4 separate regions of the Homo sapiens genome follow, and all the other regions are linked to region 2. Evidence: promoter capture Hi-C in human tissues and cell types (Jung and others, 2019). All regions are on one chromosome and are shown on one strand. The core of a region is centred on a gene start or on the middle of the fragment in contact, and the rest is flanking DNA. Distances in the headings are between cores, read along the strand shown.

Region 1 (3,320 bases), core at 427-2,926, 2.0 Mb after region 2:
GGGAGGCGGAGCTTGCAGTGAGCAGAGATGGCGTCACTGCACTCCAGCCTGGGCGACAGAGCAAGACTCCGTCTCAAAAAAGAAAAAAAAAAGTGAAGGTTTAATAGGCAAAAGAAAGAGACAGGAAAATAGCTCTCTCTTCTGCAAGAGAGAGAGGCGCCCAAGCGGAACTTCTGGCCTGCGGCGGAGTGCACAGGGTTTCATAGGCAGGCTTGAGGAAGCGGTGTCTGATTTAGAAAGGGCCCTAAGGTTGGTTGGACCAAGTGTGATGTTTATATCGCATGTGGGGAAGCCGGCCACCCCACCCTAATCTTCTTTATGCAAATGGAGTCTTTGTCTGCCCGGGGCCATGTTGTCTGCTCCCGACTGCACACGTGGTTGGCAAGCAAAAGGGAAGATGGAGTCATCATTTTGAACATACCTGGTCCCCAGGTAGCCCCTTTCCTATTGCCACAATGGCCAGCATTCACCCATGCAAGCTTCTAGCCTGCCTTTCTATGTCTGCAGCTTGATTTTACTGGCTGCTCTTTGTTAGAAAAGAAAATGATTTGGAGGCTGCTTTTCATTAAAAGGAAAAGCTTACCGAGGACTTCCTTACCCTTACTATCTGCCTAAATAATTCCTTTTTAACTGGTCCATCACACTCATCCCCATCTTCAGGGATATTTCAATAGGGATACTTCAGTAAAAAATCTTCTAGCTTCTTTTCACTGGGTACCACCCCCCTTTTTAGGTTTAAATTTTAACTTTCTCTGCTCTTCTAAGTAAATTACCACTGACTTAATTGATCACCTTCCAAAATTTTCTTGACATTCATGATCTATTTCTATATCCTCTCTAAAACTCTTTGTCCTTATACATTTATGGTTTTATTTGTTATCATTTCTCCACTGTCATTTTGAGGCTTTGAGAGAAAGAAGATATAAAGGCATATGTTTTTAATGTCGCTACCCATGAGGCAGAGATGTTAGAAGGTGGGCAACTACCTGAGGGGAGAAGCATAAGAAACTGCAGGCAGTCTGTGGGCCTCACTCGATGTCTGCAGCAGCCTCTGGTTTTCAGGGGCCTCCATACCACTGGCCGACTGCCTGACACAGTCAATATTCAGTTATGTGGCAAGTCAAGAGGAATTGTCTGCATGTGTGTTCTGACCAGTGACACTTTCACAAAAAGCAGCTAAGGAAGGTGCTGTTGAACTGGGGAAAGAGAATCCAGCTCAGAGCAAGCAAAAGTCTATTGGAAAAGCATTGATTGCCAAGATCTGGATAAACCTCTCCCACATCATTCCCTCATTACTGGAGTTAAGGCTGGGGAAGAAGGAGAGGGAGGCAATCTTGAGTGCTATTGAGAAATAGCCCAGCATAGCAGAGTTCACAATAGCAGCCCCAGCTCGGACTCCCGGAGTCAAGGTGGACATGACTCCAGGACCTGAGGTTGAGTTCCTGAAGGAGGAAAACAGCAGATTTCCCATCCCCAGTCAGAGGGATCCCCAAAAGGGCAGGACTTGGTTAATGACTACACCCGCTACCTTGCTTCCAGTGTGGGGCAGAGAGCCCCAAACAGGAGAGCTGTGTCTCAAACAGGATAAGTTGCCTGCTCCCTTGCATCTAGCAAACTCAGGGCAGATAGGGCAGGTTCTGAATGAGGACAGTGTGGTAGCTCCTGTGCACCCAGGGCTCTGTGACGTGGGGTTGGGGCATTTTCTCAGAGATAACCAGAGAAGCCCCCATCTAGAAGGGGAGCTGAGCAACTCCACGTGGAATTTCTGAGGAACGGACCCCTGATTTGATGTGAATGCTCACCCCTTTCTTCTGATGCCCAAGCTGCAGTCATCCTGAGAGATAAGTCATGCCAGACAGGAGTCAGAAAATGGGAGAAGGGCCTGGAGTAGCTCTTGTCCTCCTGAGTAAGCAAGCCAGCTCCAGTATAGCTGTTGCTTTTTTTTTTTTTTAGAGACAGGTCTCTCTCTTTTCCAGGCTGGAGTGCAGTAGCACTATCGTAGCTCAATGCAGCCTCCACCTCCTGGACTCAAGCAATCCTCCTGCCACAGCCTCCCAAGTAGCTAGGACCACAGGTGCTCACCACAACACCAGGATAATTTATTTTTTTTTTCTACTTTTTGTAGAGATGGGCTCTCCCTATGTTGCTCAGGCTTGTCTTGAACTCCTCGCATCAAGCAATCCTCCCACCTCAGCCCCACAGAGTGCTGGGATTACAGATGTGCGCCACCTCACCTGACCAAGCTGCTTTTGTTTTCTACAGAGTGGCAGAACCCACATCAGTGAGGAAATTGTTCACACAACTGTCTTTCCACTCATGAAGTTGAGTAAGGGAGGGAAGAAGGAAAGACTTACGGCAGACACTGTTGGTGCCTCGCCCATAGCCCCTTTAGATCCCTGGACCATTTACTGTGTCCACCAGCTTCCCATGCGCCTTCACACCCAACAGCCTGCACCTGCATCTCTTGGTGAAGAGCCTGGAAATTAACATACCCCTGGGACAGCCCTTAACAAGTGACTGACAAACATACGAATACAATCCTCCAGCTCTTGCTCCCTGGTGGGGGTAACTGGAAGGTGTCTGCTGAGTTCCCAGGAGAGACTGAGCCAAAGCAGCCCTCCCCGGACTCTGCCTGCTGCCGTTCCTTTGCCTGGCCTTCTTTCTCTCCTGGTCCCACTTTCCCGCCCACTCCCAACTGGTTTTTTCTAGGAACACTTCTTAAATAAATAATTTTTATAGGAATCCTCTTCTCAGAGTCTGCTTCCAAAAACTCAACCTAAGACAGCCTCCTATTTCAGAGTCCTTGCTGGTTCATTGCTACTAAAAAATTGAAAAACCAGGTAGCCCTTTGTTTATCAGTCACGTTAAGGATGCTGTGAGTGTAACAAGGTAGACTCCGAGGTGAGGAAAGGATGGAGACTTCAACTGCTTCTTTAAATTCAAGGCAGAGAACTGGGCCTCTGAAGGGAACCTGGAGTGGTAAGGAGAGGAGGGAGCTGGGAGTGTGTGGTGGAGAAGGGCTGGGCAGGGTGTGAAAGCTGTCTGTTGCACCGAGCCTTCAGCAAGGCTGCTGCTCACACAGACTGTGTGGGTGTGAGGTTTGGGGCAAGGGTATCCAATGAAAAGGCTGCTTGGGATGCTGCAGTGCAGAACAGAAGAGCGGGATGGAAAAGCAAAGCAATCCTCCAACTGAACTCAGTCCGTGGCAGCAGAAACTCTGAGCCACCGAACTGAACTCAGTCCGTGGCAGCAGAAACTCTGAGCCACCGAAGGACATTATCCACCATGAGCATGCCACACCCACCCACTCCCACCCCCCT
Region 2 (3,443 bases), core at 1-2,500:
CCCGACGTGGTGACACGTGCCTGAAGTCCCAGCTACTCGGGAAGCTGAGGCAGGAGAATCGCTTGAACCTGGGAGGCGGAGGTTGCAGTGAGCCAAGATCGCGCCACTGCACTCCAGCCTGGGCATCAGAGCGAGACTCCTTCTCAAAAAAAAAAAAAAAAAAAAAAAAGAGGGAACGAAGGTTATCTGAGCTGCAGCGATCCAGGCAGGGAAGAGGTCAGGACCCCACTGTCCTGTCTCCCAGGCAGGCTGAAAAGCTTGGAGCTCAGGCCCCAGGCGCACAGGTGTAAGACAGGGATCTGGAGCCACAGACCTGGCTCCGGGCTCAGCTCTGCCACTTAAGTCTCTGGGGAAATAAGTAAAATGGAGACCGCAGTTCCTGCCTTTGCCCCAGGGACTCTCTCTCTCCCCCGCACCTTCAACCCCAGCTGCCCAAAACTCCTCGTGGGAACAGGAAGAGAGGTCTCAAACCGAACCAAGCTGGGGCGCGGAACCCAGGTGGGAGAGACAAAAGAGCCCCCAACTCAGCACCCTTCTCAGTCCAGGGGAGAGGGCTTGGGGGACTCTGTGCTCCCCGGAATGTTAAGGAGCAAAGCCCACCCACCAAGTTGACCCAAAACTAGGCTGCAACAAGTGCCTCCCAGGCTCGGTCTCCCACTGGCTGGGACTTGAAGACTCCCTCTCGCTCCCAGGGGTCGCCTCCCTCGCCGGCGAAGGCCCTGCCAGCTGACACCGGCCGGCCCACCCCCATCCCGCAATTAGGCGGGAGACAAAATGACATCATGCACGGCTTGGCCCGGGTCCCAAGAGACCCGCCCGTCCCAGCTCCGAGGCCCAACAGGCCTGGGGAGCCGCGAGGGACGCCCAAGAGCCCCCCAGCTTTACGCGCGCCCCTGCCTCAGAGGGCCCAGGACGCAGCATTTCCGCGGAAACACCCCACCCCCAACACACACACACACCCCAGCTTGGTGGGAGCCTGGGGAGGGTCGGGGGTATCTGGGTGGGGGAGGGGTGAGTTAAAGGGAGGGGGAGGGGCCCAAGCCCTCCCGGCTCGTCTCACCAGCGCGTCCGCCGAGACATCCCCCCGGCCCGGACCGCGCCGCGCTCGCCCGCCCGCCGGCAGAGCCCGGAGCGGGAGCCGGGCCGGGGTCAGGACCCGGGCTGCTCCGGCCGCTCCGGGCCCCGGGCCGCGCTCGAAGGCGTCAGCGTGTCAGCAGGTCCCGCGCTCCTCGCTCGCAGGAACTGCAGTCGCCGCCGGCGCGGGTTGAAGCACTTTTCTATCTCCCGCCAAGCGCGTCGGCGCCGCCCAGTCCTGGCGCGCGGGCGCCGGGGGAGGGGCCTGAGTGAGGGGCGGAGCCAGGGGGCGGGGCGGGGCGGGGCCTGCGGGGCGGCACCTGCCCAGACCCTCCAGGGCCGGCTGCAGGACAGGGGCGGCGGCCGCTACTTCGGAGTTGTGGAGCGGGCCGGGATGTGACCGAGGCCTGGCTCACGTGTCAGTCCGGGGCGGCCCAGGAGTATCCCACATAGCGAAGACCGAGGAAGGGGAGCGAGGCGCGAGCATGGGAGAGCCAGCCAGGGAAAGCGCCAGGGCGGAATCCCCCACGCTAGTCCAAGCCACTACTGGGTCCCTAGAGCCGCACCCTAAAGCGGCTCCTCACCCTACCTGTGCCTCTCCCTGCTTCCTCTCCTGCCTCCAAGAGACCCTCCTTAATAGACTTTATTTTTTGTTGTTCATTTTTCTTAGAGGCAGGGTCTTGCTCTGTCGCCCAGGCTGGAGTGCAGTTTCGCGATCATAGCTCACTGCAACCTCCACCTCCTAGGCTCAAGCGATCCTCCTACCTCAACTCACGGGTAGCTAAGACCAGGCACTCGCCACTACACCCGGCTGATTTTTTTTTTTTTTTTTTTTGAGACGGTGTCTCGCTTTGTCGCCAGGCTGGAGTGCAGTGGCGCGATCTTGACTCACTGCAACCTCCACCTCCCGGGTTCAAGCGACTCCCCCGCCTCAGCCTCCCAAGTAGCTGGAACTACAGGCGCACACCACCACGCCCGGCAATTTTTTTTTTTTTTTTTTTTTTTTTTTAGTATTTTAGTAGAGACGAGGTTTCACCATGTTGGCCAGGATGGTATAGGTCTCCTGACCTCGTGATCCGCCCGCCTCGGCCTCCCAAAGTGCTGGAATTACAGGAGTGAGCCACTGCGCTTTTTTTTTTTTTTTTAAGAGAAGGGGGTGTCTTGCTATGTTGCTGTTGCCTAGACTGGTCTAGAAACTCCTGGGCTCAAGAGATCCTGCCGCTTTGTCCTCCCAAAGTGCTGGGATTGCAGGCGTGAGCTCTTTCCAGAATTTAAAACCATCCTCCTCTCCCTCAGGGTAAATTCCTTACTCCACAATCACATTTATCTGATCTTCCAGACCACCACCCAGCCCTGGCCAAAAGAAACGGCCTCTTTGCCTTTGCCTGAGCCATTACCCAGGGCAGGAACACTTCCTGCCCCTCCCACGTGGCTGATTCCTATTTAATTTGGGGTCCACTGCCCACAATCTGCCTGTAGACTTCTGCATTTCCCCCTTTGAACTGGGAGCATCCTGAGGTCCAGGTGGCCTCTCAATGCACACCAGTATCTCCAGGGCCCAGTAGAAGACCTGACATAAGAAGCCCCAGGCAAAGGTTTGTTGCATTGAATTGTTTACCTTGGGTTTAAACTCCCAGAGATTAGCCCAGATTTAGTGGCTCATGCCAGTAATCCTAGCAGTTTGGGAGGCCGAGGTGGGAGAACTGATTCAGTCCAAAAGTTTGAGACCAGCCTGGGGATCAGAGTGAGACCCTGTCTTTACAAAAAATTAAGAAATTACCTGGCTGTGGTGGTGAATGCCTGTAATCCCAGCTACTTGGGAAGCAGAGGCAGGAGGATTGCTTGAGCCCAGGAGTTCGAGGGGCTCAAGCCCTTGTCATCCCGCCACTGCACTCCAGCCTGGGCGACAGACAGTGAGACTGTCTTTCCTTGAGATTTAGCAAAGGTTTTCTATATTAGATTGACATTTACCAAGTACCAAGGATCAAGTCACACTGGACTTCCTGGGAGCAGTGCTGAGAGGAAGATAAATGAGCTCTGAGACAGGACGCTGAAGAAACCAAATCAAACCCCAGCCTTTTAGCCCCTGTTCAGGCCTCAGAGCCCCCTTCCAGAAGCTGCTGGCCACCTGGGGACAGTCCAGCCACCAGCTGCTGCAAACTTCACTTACCACAGAAGGAAGACTAACTCACATCTTAAGTGCTAGAAGCTTCCACATCACTTAATTCAGGGTTTCTCCCGCCCACTCCCCTTATAAAGTAATTAATGTGGACATGCCCACTTCATTGAAAGCACAGCCTCCACAGCCAAACTTCCTGGGGTTTGAGTCCCAGCTCCACCATTCAGTTGCGGTATCTTAGGCAAATTAC
Region 3 (3,426 bases), core at 128-2,627, 1.3 Mb before region 2:
GATTTAAATGCTTTTTGTAATAAAATACACACCTATCCATCCATTTATCCACCCAAACCCAAGTAGTTACAGCATGGATTTCTTTGAGGCAGAAGCTAGCTATTTCTTGTTTATCTTTTGTCTGTTATCAAGTTCAGTGCTGGAATGAGTGAATGAGGAAATACTTGGTTCCCTTTGAATGGCAAAAAGCGCAGTGTCCTTCTGTCACATAAGAATGACAAACACGCCAGCCCAGCAGACCAACAAGCCTGAACAGGTTATAGTTATCTCTACTGCCTTAACACAAGGCCCAAAGAGCTCTGAGTTTGAAATGTATCCTAATGCCCTGAGGCACCCATTTTCCAAACTGATCATCTTCCCCACTCTATCTGGGCAGGTTCTTCAGACCCAGAAGAAGAAAGTGTTCTCTACTCCAACCGAGCAGCATGTCACTTGAAGGATGGAAACTGCAGAGACTGCATCAAAGATTGCACTTCGTAAGTGGCCAAGGGTAATTTTGGGATGCCTGAGGGTCTCAGAAGAGGAGGCTGGGTTAATCTGGCTTGTTTCTTCTTTGGAAGGATCCCATCAATTACATCTGGGACAGATATTAAGAAAGTGTCACTGAGTTTCACCAGGTCACTGAGAATGGGAGTCTTTATTTGGTCCTTATGGCCCGTGACTTGCATCTTTGGAGTCTTGGCTCTGCTGCCGAAAAAGGAGTGGGATGGGCAGTTAGAAGCAGGCCGTAAAGTCTTTGTGCAATTTGAAACCTGGGAATAAGGTGGAGTGGCAGACCAGTAACTGGCTTGCCCAGGTGCTTTTCTGGGATGGGAGTATGTGAGGGGAAGGGAGCGAAGGAAAGAAGGAGGAATAGAGGTTAATAGATTGTCTCAGAAGGAGAAAGGAAAAAAATGGTATTCATGAATGACCAGTTTTAGAGGACACTGAACAATGTTTCATATCTCTTTTTCTTCAAGCCAGTCTAATATTCTTTTATCATCATTAAACTCTCACATTTACCTGAAATGTGTTCTCAGATCTGATGTCCTCTGACATTGCTTTAGATTCCTGCCCTGGTGATAGCCAGGAGAGCAGGAGGGGTGTGAGCATACTCACAGAGCCTGTGCTGAATTAATTTGTGCCATGCCTTGTGCCAGATTTCCCTCTTTGAGTGTTCACAACCAATCTGTGGGGTACGGTTACCATGTGTCCCAGGCCAGAACTTGGTTGCTGAGGGTTGGGGCAGTAAAGTGATTTACCTGGGTCACATAGTTAGCAGCAGAGGTGGAATTCAGACACCACCCCATCTGACTCCAAAGCTTGTTTGTTATTCCCACTAGACCACAACTGTAAAAAAACATAGTAGCATGAAAGCCATGAGGCTTTTGTTCTTGATTTTGGGGGAACTGAAACTATGAAAATTGATGCATGTGCACACACATTTAACAAAATTCATGTTTCTCTGCCTTCTTTCTCCTCCTCACTTCAGTCTACGTTGAAAAATCCCTGTTCTGAGGTTTGGCGTTTTTAGCCATGTCTCTCGGCCAGAAATTACTTCCTGTACGCTGAGTGCTCCAGATAACCCTGCCTGGAAGAAACTGTAGGGAAACCCTGGTGGCTCAGCAGCCAGCCAGTTGACATTTTTGCCTCCTATTCTAGAGCACTGGCCTTGGTTCCCTTCAGCATTAAGCCCCTGCTGCGGCGAGCATCTGCTTATGAGGCTCTGGAGAAGTACCCTATGGCCTATGTTGACTATAAGACTGTGCTGCAGATTGATGATAATGTGACGTCAGCCGTAGAAGGCATCAACAGGTGAGCTCCATTCCCAGCAGGTGGTCTCCACGGCAACTCCCTGTCCTTCTTGATTGGCTGCGGGCCATTGCCTTGTCTGTCTTCTGAGGGGATCCCTTTGGCTACACTTAAAAAACTCCCGATGGGCATGTAGGGGAAGCTGAGAAAGGAAAATCTGCTTTTTTATTTAGCAGGTTTTCAGGGAGTCAATTACTAAGATTGATTGATTGATATTTGCCTACATGTGCCTCACAGTATCTATGTACACAGTAATATTTATTGTACACTGTTTAAGGTGTTGTGCCCGGTTCAGTGGGGGATACCAAAATGAGAAAGAGATACAGACCCCACTTACCTTCAAAGCGCTAACGCTAATTAGAAGAATAAGACACAAGCCCAAGCAGCTATGACAAGCCTAAAAGGATATGGTTTGTGGACATGGTTCAGTATATTGCACTGTGACCAATCCAAGAGGTTCCCCAGGTGCAATTCCTTTCTGGTCTCTGAGCAGTTATTGGCTTTTATCTCATGGATATTGTCATTTGTATAACTGATCATGTTTCCCCTCTGCGTGTGCGGCTAGAAAGCCAAACACTGCACTAATAGCAAACCCTTAACAGGGACTTCATGGTATGTATTTAGTGCTTTATTTCTGGCTTGACTTGTCTGCCAGCATTCTTTGTTTTCTCTTTGCCTCCTTTTTAACTTATCTGATTCCACAAAATCTACCAATTATGTGACAGACTTTGCTCTAGGACCTGGGCTGATGACTGAGACATACCTCTTCCTGCCGTCATAGAGGTCCCGGTCTCAAGGAAGACACCAGTCAGTAATAGGCAAGCACAATACAACATGATAAGCGCCATGGTAGGAGGCAGCACAGGGGGCTCTGAGGCCAGAAAGGAGCCACCTAGCTAGCTGAGAGGGAGAGGGGGAGGCCAGAGAGAGCTTTTCAGAGGAGGTGAGCTAAGAATGAGAGATATGGGGTAGGGGGTTAGCCAGAAGACAGAGCAGCGTGTGCAAAGGTGAGCAAGTGTGACAGATCACAGGAATTGTAAGAAGTCGGTTTCACATGGTGCTGCAGGCAGGAGCTCAGCTTGGGACAGGTTGGTGAGGCCAAGTCACACAAGACCCAGGGTTCAGGGCTTGGACTTAATCCTGAGCAAGTCAGCCTTTATGAAAAGGTCTTTAGCAGTGGAGCAACATGAGCAGATTTGTATTTTAGAGAAAAGCTCTTTGCTGCCATGTTGAGGGATGATATGAAGGGCAACAGAATAGAAAGGAGTCATGCAGCAATCCAGGGGAGAGGGTGGAGAGAAAACAATGGGACCAGTCAGGGGACATGTAGGAAGTATATCAACAAGCTTTAGTGGTTGCGGGGTATCGAGAAGGGAGGAATAGAAGAAGACACTCAGATTATTGACATTCAGTCGGAGGTGACTGTGGGACATAAGACTAGAGATCTAAGTAGGACGGTTGGGTATTTACATGGAACAAAGGAAGAAAATACAGGCCAGACATAAGGATTTGAGGGTCATCAGCGCAGAGGTGGATTAGGGCTGTGAGAAAGAAAAAGAACATCACAGCTAGTGTGAAGAGGATGGAGCTTTGAGAAACTCCAGCATTTGAGGGACTTACAGAGGAACAGCAGCT
Region 4 (3,548 bases), core at 56-2,555, 1.2 Mb before region 2:
GAATAAGGAAGAAAACTGACAAGAAAATCTGAAAAATCTAGGCTCGAATGTTTCAATGGGGTAAGGAACTGATCACATATTCTGAACAGCATTCACAGATGTACCATTCCAGATAGAGCATCCACAGCACTGTACAGCAGAAGTTTTAGTTCTGGAGTCTCTCTGCTGAAGAAAAATCAGATGCCAAGCTACTGCAGAAGGGACTGAGAAAGTCAGTGGGACCAGGTGGTTAGTGGGTGTTACCCAGAAAAAGTTAAACACTCCTGGCTCTCAGAGAAAACTACTCACTAAAAAACACCCACTATAAAACTGTCTGTGTGCCATTCTACATATAAAATTTAGAGTCCTGTAATAAATTTAATTCCATTCAAACATTTGCAGGTTCTTTGTTAGGAAACAAAACACAGCATATCTGTAATACAAAGTCATTAGCACTAAGTCCAGTGAACACTGAATTTGGAGAGAAACTGCATTTCTATTATTTCAAAATCCCTTCCCTCTTTCACATCAGCTGTTGCATATCATTGCTAATTATGTCCAATTAGCCATGATTAAACTTACTGAGGGTGTTAAGTGACAGGCGCAAGGTTACACATGTGACTTAATGGTAGATATGACAATAAATTGACTTCTTGGCTTAAGTAATCAATCCAAAAGACACTATGTTAATTCTGATCCATAAAGACAGCCCAATTGGTTGACCTTATGAATAATTTCTACAGTTTGGGGCCCACTGACATAATGAAGCCTATCAGTCTGATTTACCAGTACCGCACACCAAGTCCACAGGCTATGTGACCTCTGTGAATTTGTTTTCTCATCCATAATACAGGCAAATCTGGGCTGGGCGTGGTGGCTCACGCCTGTAATCCCAGCACTCTGGGAGGCCGAGGAGGGTGATCACTTGAGGTCAGGAGTTCAAGACCAGCCTGGCCAACATGGTGAAACCCCGTCTCTACTAAATATATAAAAAAATTAGCCGGGTATAGTGGCAGGCGCCTGTAATCCCAGCTAATTGGGAGGCTGAGGCAGCCTGAAGGCAGAGGCTGCAGTGAGCTGAGATCACGCCACTGCACTCCAGCCTAGGCGACAGAGCAAGACTCTGTGAAGAAAAAAAAAAACATAGGCAAATCTACTTACTAGGGTTCCTGTAAGGAGTAAACCTGTTTATGATATAAAACAGTAAGCACTCAAATAAATGGCAACCACAGTACATTCCACACAAAACTTAAAAAACCAATGGTCAGCCAGTGAAGGGAAACTTACTATGTACCTCATTTATTTTACACGTACTCTGCTTTCTTTAAAGACTTTTAAAAGAAAGGCACATAACAATTTCCCTATGCTTATTTCTAAAATGGCCCTTATCACAGTTTACTGCAATGCAAGTGTCTCTGCTGGCTCCCACACCGGATTGTGAGCTTAAAGTAGGAATCCAGCCAGGCGTGGTGGCTCACGCCTGTAATCCCAGCACTTTGGGAGGCCGAGGCAGGTGGATCGCAAGGTCAGGAGTTCAAGACCAGCCTGGCCAAGATGGCGAAACCCTGTCTCTACTAAAAATACAAAAATTAGCTGGGCGCAGTGGCAGGCGCCTGTAATCCCAGCTACTCAGGAGGCTGAGGCAGGAGAATTGCTTGAACCCGGGCTTCAGAGGTTGCAGTGAGCCAAGATCGTGCCACTGCACTCCAGCCTGGGTGACAGAGTGAGACTCCATCTCACAAAAAAAAAAAAAAAAAAAAAAAAAAGTAGGAATCCAGACTTGTATCTTTGGACACCCAATGTGGAGTACAAGGCCTAGCACACTGAGTGACTGCTTGATCAACTGATGCATTCTTAAAAAGTGAAAAAGCAATTATTTCCTACGTGGACAGAGGAAGGTAGCACACATCTGACCTATAAAATACAGACTGTTTTTATTGTCTTAGACTACTTTTTGAAAAAAGCCAGCCAGCTCTCATCAGGAGCAACACTATACATTTTGACTAATATTTTTCAGCTACCAATCATTGTATTTATAGATTCAAACTGACTTTCAACAAGCCTTTGGATTACTTTCTGTCCATCTCCTCCATTCAGAAGTCCAATCAGTTCGCTATACAAAAAGTTCACTATACAGAAACCCAAACCAGCTAACTCGTTTAGTAAATAACAAAAATATCCATCCATCATTTATGGCCTGCAAAGCACTCAGGGATTCCTAGAAACGCATTTGATCCTAAGTATCCTATGAGGCAGGTGACATTGTCCCGTTTTATAAATGCAAAGAGTTAACTCATTCAGGGTCACACAGCTATATATGGCAGATCTGGGATCTAAACCAACATTAATTTTAAAATTAATGCTCTTTCCTTTATGTAACCCTATCTCCTAAAGATCAATTATGAACTCCAATGCTCACTTAAGGAAAAGAGAGAATTGTCAACTTTTAAAAGAACTATACAAGGTTGTTACAGTGAAATTTTAAAACTGGCCTATTAAGCTAATGTTATCTAGCTTTAAAAATAAAAACAAAATCAAGGAGTTAAAAACAGCATAAAAACATGCCAAAGACTTACCAAAATGTCAAACAAATTTTAAAGGAAAGCTCTTAGCTGAGGGCAAATAATAATAATAGACAGGACTCATATCTACTTTATTGTAGCCTTCAATCTTCTTGTCCTGGTCAAGGCCATTCAGAAATAACCTCCTGTTGGTTCTTTTAGGGAAAACAATAAAATAAACTAACCAGTACGGGAAAAACTTACATAATAAAGAACTGGCCAGAATTTAAAAAAAAAAAAAAAGTTAACTAACCTACAATCTGCTAGGAATGACTTGAGGCCACTGATCATTTACATCTCATTACAAGTATCAGATACATATAACCACACCTCTATTAGAAAATCTTTTAGTTGAGAAAGCAGTAAGATGATTGGCCTTCAGCACACATATCATGAGACAGAAAGCACTTTTAGTCTGTTTCCTCAAGTATTCCCCTTAGAAAAATTCCCTCAGAATCCAGCTCCAACCGTTAGTTTCTCCATCATGCAATACAGATGACTGCTAAGATCATATTCACATAGAGATCAAAAGGATTCTAAAGCTTAAAGGTTGCTATTATGTAACCATAATTTCTTGCCCCTTAACTAGTGAATTGTCATCTTTCCCTAGAAAAATGTAGAAACAAGGAACTTAAAAGTATCTCTACAAGGAAATTTTAGTTCATTCTCTAAGGTACCAGCATTTAAAGGAAAACTCAGTTTGTTGACACCGAAAGAGCAGGTAGCACAACAGGATGTTTTAATTTAGAAGTTTCTCTCTATTTACGTAGATATATTTCCTCATTTCCTCCCTGCCAACAAAATGAGAAAAATCTGAACATCTACTGATGAAGTCGTAAGATAAACAAAAATTAATGGTCACAATCAAATTCTATTAGATGAAGAACCTAAAATTCTATGCCAAAGTAACTGATGACTTTCTCCCTAGTATGAAGCAAGTACTAGAAAAACTGGATTGTTCACAAGCTTGCTTCCTGATGCATGCTAGCAATTATCATCCCTACAGGC

Evidence for each region. The method cuts DNA at HindIII sites, captures the fragments that hold promoters and counts their contacts. A contact is called where the count stands out against the background at its distance.
Region 1: a contact is called between a fragment that was not itself captured here and the fragment with the promoter of MYBL2 in region 2, in 1 of the 25 tissues and cell types used here (dorsolateral prefrontal cortex).
Region 3: a fragment that was not itself captured here is called in contact with the fragment with the promoter of MYBL2 in region 2 in 1 of the 25 tissues and cell types used here (sigmoid colon).
Region 4: a fragment that was not itself captured here is called in contact with the fragment with the promoter of MYBL2 in region 2 in 1 of the 25 tissues and cell types used here (spleen).

Annotation. Positions count from the first base shown.
Region 1 is chr20:41,670,579-41,673,898 of GRCh38, reverse strand. No RefSeq gene overlaps it. Among named protein-coding and RNA genes, the nearest start is that of CHD6, 54 kb to the right of the region's middle. RefSeq lists an enhancer at 1-39. The HindIII fragment of the contact is 3,117 bases long and covers 118-3,234 here.
Region 2 is chr20:43,664,921-43,668,363 of GRCh38, reverse strand. MYBL2 (MYB proto-oncogene like 2) reads right to left here and starts at 1,250. Exons shown (of 14, transcript NM_002466.4): 1 at 1,061-1,250. The coding sequence starts at 1,080. RefSeq lists enhancers at 345-394, 1,161-1,455 and silencers at 1,045-1,424, 1,161-1,455. The HindIII fragment of the contact is 5,433 bases long and covers 1-3,443 here.
Region 3 is chr20:44,953,436-44,956,861 of GRCh38, reverse strand. It overlaps TOMM34 (translocase of outer mitochondrial membrane 34), which reads left to right. Exons shown (of 7, transcript NM_006809.5): 2 at 377-476; 3 at 1,642-1,794. LOC124904912 (a long non-coding RNA gene) reads right to left here and starts at 1,646. Exons shown (of 2, transcript XR_007067599.1): 1 at 1,242-1,646. The HindIII fragment of the contact is 7,243 bases long and covers 1-3,426 here.
Region 4 is chr20:44,888,698-44,892,245 of GRCh38, reverse strand. The region is part of intron 1 of YWHAB (tyrosine 3-monooxygenase/tryptophan 5-monooxygenase activation protein beta); the gene reads right to left. Among named protein-coding and RNA genes, the nearest start is that of YWHAB, 4.8 kb to the right of the region's middle. The HindIII fragment of the contact is 5,673 bases long and covers 1-3,548 here.